Regions from separate parts of the Homo sapiens genome. Here region 2 is linked to region 1. Evidence: promoter capture Hi-C in human tissues and cell types (Jung and others, 2019). All regions are on one chromosome and are shown on one strand. Each heading gives the region's core, a stretch centred on a gene start or on the middle of the fragment in contact. The rest is flanking DNA. Distances are from core to core; before and after follow the strand shown. Region 1 holds the start of SLC19A3 (solute carrier family 19 member 3). Region 2 overlaps COL4A3 (collagen type IV alpha 3 chain).

The links. Contacts are between HindIII fragments. The study calls those that stand out against the background at their distance.
Region 2: a contact is called between a fragment that was not itself captured here and the fragment with the promoter of SLC19A3 in region 1, in 2 of the 25 tissues and cell types used here (IMR-90 fibroblasts and lymphoblastoid cells).

The regions. Positions count from the first base shown.
Region 1 is chr2:227,716,687-227,720,013 of GRCh38, reverse strand. SLC19A3 (solute carrier family 19 member 3) reads left to right here and starts at 1,986. Exons shown (of 6, transcript NM_025243.4): 1 at 1,986-2,071. RefSeq lists an enhancer at 1,569-2,455. The HindIII fragment of the contact is 9,813 bases long and covers 1-3,327 here.
Region 2 is chr2:227,179,214-227,182,489 of GRCh38, reverse strand. All of the region lies in intron 1 of COL4A3 (collagen type IV alpha 3 chain), which reads right to left. Among named protein-coding and RNA genes, the nearest start is that of COL4A3, 16 kb to the right of the region's middle. The HindIII fragment of the contact is 5,974 bases long and covers 1-3,276 here.

The DNA.
Region 1 (3,327 bases), core at 737-3,236:
TGAATTCCTCAATATCTCTCTCTGATTTAGACTGTGGCTATGAGATATTAGAGAATCAGAGTAAACTTCTCAAGGTCCAATTTGAACTCATTTTCTTCAAGAGGTGTGAAGGAAATCATGACACCTTCAGCCTTTAAGAAAATTTCACAATATTCTTTGGGAGGACCCAGCAATTTGCAAGGTTGCACAATGAGCAGGGCACTCCTACACCTAAGGTTCAGCTCAGGACTTTTCACAAATCATAGGAAGATGAAAATAGAAAACGCAGAGTCGTAGGACAGAGAACCAAGACACCTCGGGGTGTTTTAATCCATTTCACTTCCACTGGTAGCCCTTAGAAGCCACGCAGTGTTTATCTTTAGGGAGGGTTTTTCAAGTCCACCAAGAGATGAACAGAAATAAAAATATTTTTTCCATTTTAACCAATAAGAACCTTGTAATGCTTTAAAAAAATTCTCTGTTTAATAAGAAGTTTCACTTTAATATATAAACTCTTTGCAGGCTAAGCGTAGTGGCTCATGCCTGTAATCCCAACACTTTGGGCGGGCAAGGCAGGAGGATCCTTTGAGCCCAGGAGTTCAAGACCAGCCTGGGCAAGATAGTGAGACTCTGTCTCTACCAAAAAAAAAAAACAAAAAAATTAATGTGACGTGGTGGCACCCACCTGCAAGCCCAGCTACTTGGGAGGCTGAGGCAGGAGGATCAGTGTGCCTGGGAGATTGAGGTTGCAGTGAGCTGGGGTTGCACCACTGCACTCCAGCCTGGGAGATAAAGTGAGACTTTGTCAAAAAAAAAAAAAAAAGAAAGAAAGAAAGAGAAAAGAAAAGAAAAGAGGCCAGGTGGCCGGGTGCTGTGGCTCACACCTGTAATCCTAGCACTTTGGGAGGCCGAGGCGGGTGGATCACCTGAGGTCAGGAGTTTGAGACCAGCCTGGACAACATGGTGAAACCCCATCTCTACTAAAAATACAAAAATTAGCTGGGTGTGGTGACGGGCGCCTGTAATCCCAGCTACTAGGGAGGCTGAGGCAGAAGAATTGCTGGAACCCGGGAGGTGGAGGTTGCAGTGAGCCAAGATCGTGCCATTGCACTCCAGCCCGGGGCCAACAACAGCGAGGCTCCATCTCAAAAAAAAAAAGAAAGAAAGAAAGAAAGAAAAAAGACCAGGCGCGGTGGCTCACGCCTGTAATCTCAGCACTTTGAGAGGCCGAGGCAGGCGGATCACGAGGCCAGGAGTTCGAGATGAGCCTGGCCAATATGGTGAAACCAAACCCCGTCTCTACTAAAAACACAAAAATTAACTGGGCGTTAATTTTTGGAGGCTGAGGCAGGAGAATCGCTTGAACCCGGGAGGCGGAGGGTTGTAGTGAGCCGAGATCGCGCCACTGCACTCCATCCTGGGCGACAGAGGGAGACTCTGTCTCAAAAAAAAAAAAAAGAAAGAAAGAAAAGAGAAAAGAAAAGAAAAAGAAGAAGAAAAGAAAAAATTGTTTGTATCAGATTTTCAAAGTGCCAGGAAACCATCCCACTCTACCTCCTTTAAAAAAAAAAAGTGCAGAGTGATTATAACCACTGGCTCTGGAGCCAGGAGCCCCAACTAAAACCCAGGCTTCTCTATTTACTAGGCCTACTTCCTTCCGCCTCACTTTCTTCATGTGTAGAGTGGGGGTGACAGCCAGCCAGCCCTCTCTCCTAAGCTTTTGGAGAGAAATAAATGGATTCATAAGAAAGGACATATTTGTAAATAAAGCAAACGATCGCTGTTGGATTCAGGCCCTCTTGCTTCATTATGCTGAATGTCAGTGTATTACTTAAGTTGTTCCTTTCAGCAGAGTTGACTGTTTCTGCCCAGAAAACCGGCCCTGGGCCAGGAAAATCTGGGCTTCCACACTGGGATGAAAGGTCTGGACGCCCGGATTCGCATATGCAAAGCGTGGGGGCGTGGCCCCGGGCTCCGGGCCAGGCAGGCTCCGCCCCCTTCCCACCAAGAGCGCCTGGATCCATCCGACAGCCGCGGGTGCGTGGTCGTGCGGCAAGTGAGCGATTTGGTGAACAGACACTCCCTTCTGTAGGTAAGAATATCTCGGGGGGCGAATTAATTGAAGAAGCACCGTCATCCCTCGGTCTTAGCAGTGTCGCCTCTCTCTTCCCGGGTTTGGAGAGCTGGGGGCGGGTTCCTGGCTCTGCGGGCCTGGGCTACACTCTGAGCCGCGTGAGGAGCTCTCCCCCTACGCCGCAGCCCGCGTGCTGGGATTCACCCAAGTGGGTTTGTCTGGAATTCCCATTTGCAGCCTTCTGGAAGCGCAGATTAAATAAAATCATGATTCCCGTAAAGTGCCAGCACCTCCTATGGTTACATCCCACGTTCACAGATTTTAACTGAAAAGGCATTTTAGCATAGAATTCCAAATTCCAATCCAAGGATGGAGAAAAGGTCCTTCCTAGTGGGAAAAAGGAAGGTGAGTTTGAATTTAAGAGAGCAGGGGCTTTTTTGGGAACCACTTGAAATTTAGTTAATTGAAACTAAAAGAAAACGCAACTACACCTTACAAAAACACTGCTGGAAAGGATACCTAAGTCATCAAATAATAAATAGTGTGACAGCTGTTTACCAAATCAATGTCGCTGCCGCAAATGTGCAAAAGGTTGGGACTTTCGGAGTGCTTCAAGTTTGAAAAAGGTAAAGGAATAATGTTTTCTAAAAGTACTCTCAGGCCAGGCGCAGTGGCTCACGCCTGTAATCCCAGCACTTTGGGAGGCTGAGCGGGGCGGATTGCTTGAGGTCAGGAATTCGAGACCAGCTTGGCCCTGGGATGAAACCCCGTCTCTACTAAAAAGGCAAAAATTAGCCGGGCATGGTGGCGGGTGCCTGTAATCCCAGCTACACTGGAGGCTGAGGCTGAAGAATGGCTTGAACTTGGGAGGCGAAGGTTGCAGTGAGCCAAGATTGCACCACTGCACTCCAGCCTGGGCGACCCAGCAAGATTCTGCCTCAAAAAAAAAAAAAAAAAAAAAAAAAAAGCACTCTCATGTGTTTTGCTCCTATCAATATTGAAACATTGGTGTCTCCTGTGGCAAAAGGTGTTTTTTTCATCGAGGCACATATATTAAATAGACCAAAACATAACTTCCCAAATATCTTATAAGATTATCCTAGTAGTAGCTGAAATGGACAAAAATACCAATTTCCTTCAGTCATTATTGCTAATAGACCAACAACACTCTTTTAAGGTTGTGTAATGGTAAATGCATACACATTTATTTAACATGCACACAGGGAGAATCAGAGTGATTGATTACCCACCCTGCAACATGTCTCAGAAGCTTA
Region 2 (3,276 bases), core at 85-2,584, 540 kb after region 1:
CATTAAAAATGAATGAGAGAATCAGGAGGGGATGGGATGAGTAGAGTGGTCTAGAAAAACAGGACATTGCTCTTTGATGCACTGACTCAAAATTCTCTTCCAATGAGTGAATGATCTTGAGCCAATGTGCATGTTTTATGGTGTTCATGAATGGGAGGTCTCTGAACCCACCTCATTCCAGATTCATAGCTGTCGTGAGTGGGTGGAGGGGCACAGAAGTGGAGAGCTGATTGTGGCTGGAGGCTTTAAATCTATCAAACATTTGGCTGACTCCTGGCCAATAAACAAGGAAAATAACTGTAAATTCCATATTTATTTGTGGCCAAGATATTCCTATGGTTCATTTTTGGTAAGAGCTGAGACAAATCAATAGGGAATCAGCAGTAGGTTATTCTAGAAGTAATGCTGAGAAAATTGGCTATTTGGGGGAAATTTTTTAAAAATTAGATCTTCAATTTATGGGAAATCATATTTTAGATTAAATAAGAAAAGATAGATATACATCAAAATGTTAATTCTAGTTATATTTACAAGATAGAATTTAGGGTGATTTTATTTATGTTTTTGCTCATTAGTATTAAAACTGTGTCTATTATTTGGAAAGGAGAACTTGCAGTATAAAAAAATTATACCCATTACTCTAATTAATAATTCTACTATATGTCCGTCATTAAAAAATCAGATATGTAGGCAAAAATCATCATAGCCTTGTTAAAAACATAAAAACTTTAAGTTAAATTATGGTATATAAACATCATCAAATATTATGCATTCATTTTTAAGGGATATTTACTGATGTGAGAAAATACAATATAATGTCAAAAAAGCCGGATACGTAATACCATATGCCATATGATCTCACTTTTATGCAAATATACCAAAATATTCTCACTGGTTATCCCCAGGTTCTAATATGAGGAGTTATTTTTGTTTTATAGTTTTGTTTTTACTTTTATCTATATATCTCAAATATTCACAAATGACATGCATTACATGTATAGTTAGGGAAAAAAGATCTGTGTATAAAGAATAGTTATGTTCAATCTAATAATTAGTTGCAGTGGCTTCATTTTGAAACTTCACAAGGATTCATCCTCTGAAGGATATTTCAAGAGTTTCTGTAAAAGAGTGCATCACACATAAGTGCTCGGTAAATGTGCACAAAATGAATTTATACTGCCGACCCTGATGCAGCCAACTACGCATTAATGGAATTTGAGGGAGGCTGTGTACCAAAGCTGGTTCCATGCCTTCTCTTTTAGATACATGTCAAAGAGTTCTCTATTTTAAAGACAAGAAAGGCAGAAATTATTAATATTAAATGTTACCCAGAAATATCTCTATACCAGGTATTTTTTCTCTATTAACAGGTATTTTCATTGAGGTACCTGATAAAGTCATCACAAAAGTGATGAAATCACTGGCTGAGTTTTAGCGTCAGTATTTACACAGGATGCTGTAAGGTAAATACTCTGCTCATTTTTTAATCGGGATAGTCCTAAGGGAGGATGCCATTTCTGCTGATGTTTCAAATAATGTTATTAGAAAATACCAGCAGCAAAGAATGCACTGAATAATATTTTCAAAAACAAGAAACTCCTTAATGCATTCCAGGAAGTTGATACTAGGTCACGAAATAAAAGGAGAATTAAATGAGTATAAAAAACATTTGGACTATTGCTTTTCTGATATTGAATCTCATTCCTGTCTCAGTAATACTTGGCATTTGTGGAATGCTTGACTGTGTGTAAAATGTGCGATTGTATTGTTTCAGGAGATAGGAGGGGAAGATTTTATGTGCCACATCTTGTGATTCAGGAAACAGAAACTGAATTTGAATCTGAGTGGCCTTGGAATTTTAGTGACTTGCCCAAAACTGTCACAACAGTGCCTTTCTTCTGGACCATGATGAAGGGTTCTTACTGCTGCCGGGCACTGCCTCTTTTAGATCCCAGGGTGCCTCAGATGTCCTTGCCTGCATGACTGCCCTTGTAGGGTGTGGGGATGCTGCTCATTCAGGTCACATGGGCTCTGAATGTTCCGTCTCTGAAAGGCCTGAGCAGGTCACAGCGAGTAGAAGCTCTGAACGGTTTCGTGGGCACAGTCCCAGGCACAGACAGTACTCAATAAATCCACATCTCATTCTTCTGCCTTTCTGCAGCAATTAGAGAGCACTGGCACCTGCGTGGGACATGCAGTCTTGCTTCCAATCAGTTGGAACCTCATCTCATAAGATTTCAGAGGCTGCCCTGTTCTCAGTTTTTATTGCTTTTTGGAAAGGATTGCTGATCTGCTTTTGCGTAAGATGGCAAAATAAGAATCTAGTCCGTGTCTGTAAACCTTGAAGCACTGCTACTAATCGCTGACAAGGGCTTGATCTGGGGCATAAAGTAGAAGACAGTAAAAGCACCGCACCGCCCAGTAACTCTACTTGTTGCTTTCTGAGTTCATTACCAACAGTTTTAAGCACTTTACTTTGCAGATAAACAATGTTTTCAAGCCACTGAAATCTTACTATAATACTTTCTGGCTCCGTTGCACTTACGCATTTGCTTAATATAATGCCTGCAAGTTCACTGTTCAGTACATTTATCAATCTTATTCCTCCTCTCAACTCCACTCAAAGTTTGCTTTTCCATATTTACCTCGTTATAACATGCATAATTTTACTATTATTCTCTGCACACGTATCTAAGCCCATCACTTGATTGCATACTCCATGAGGACAGAAGGGACCACATGAGTTTTATCTCCCTTTGTTCCCAGCGTGTAGCACTGTACCCCTCACATAGTAAGATATGGAAAAGTATTTGCTGCCTTGTGGAATGAATGAATGAAACATTCAATGTTTTGTCCCAAAATAACGTTTTATTCTTCTGTCAAAGGATTAAAGAACTACTAATTCTTTATTGACTTTTTAGTTTGGATATCTAATAAAATACCAACTGTGACATTAAGAGCTCGAACCACAAAGATGGATGAGACGTGAAAACTTCTTCAAGGAGTTGAGTAAGGGAAGCAACATGGAAGTAGGTTAAACTATTTTTAGATTGCAGAGTCAAGTAATATTTCAGTAAATAAAAGTAATTAATTGATGCTTTTTTTAAGTCTCATGAAGCATTCATCATTTTAAAACTCAAATTTATCTCATATATTACTTAATTACTTAAATGGTAAATACAGTGGCATCTGACACTCATTTTTAATTATCTGGGAAGTTTTTGGTTGGAAAGGGCTGTGGCCAGGCACGATGTCTCATGCCTGTAAACCCAGCAC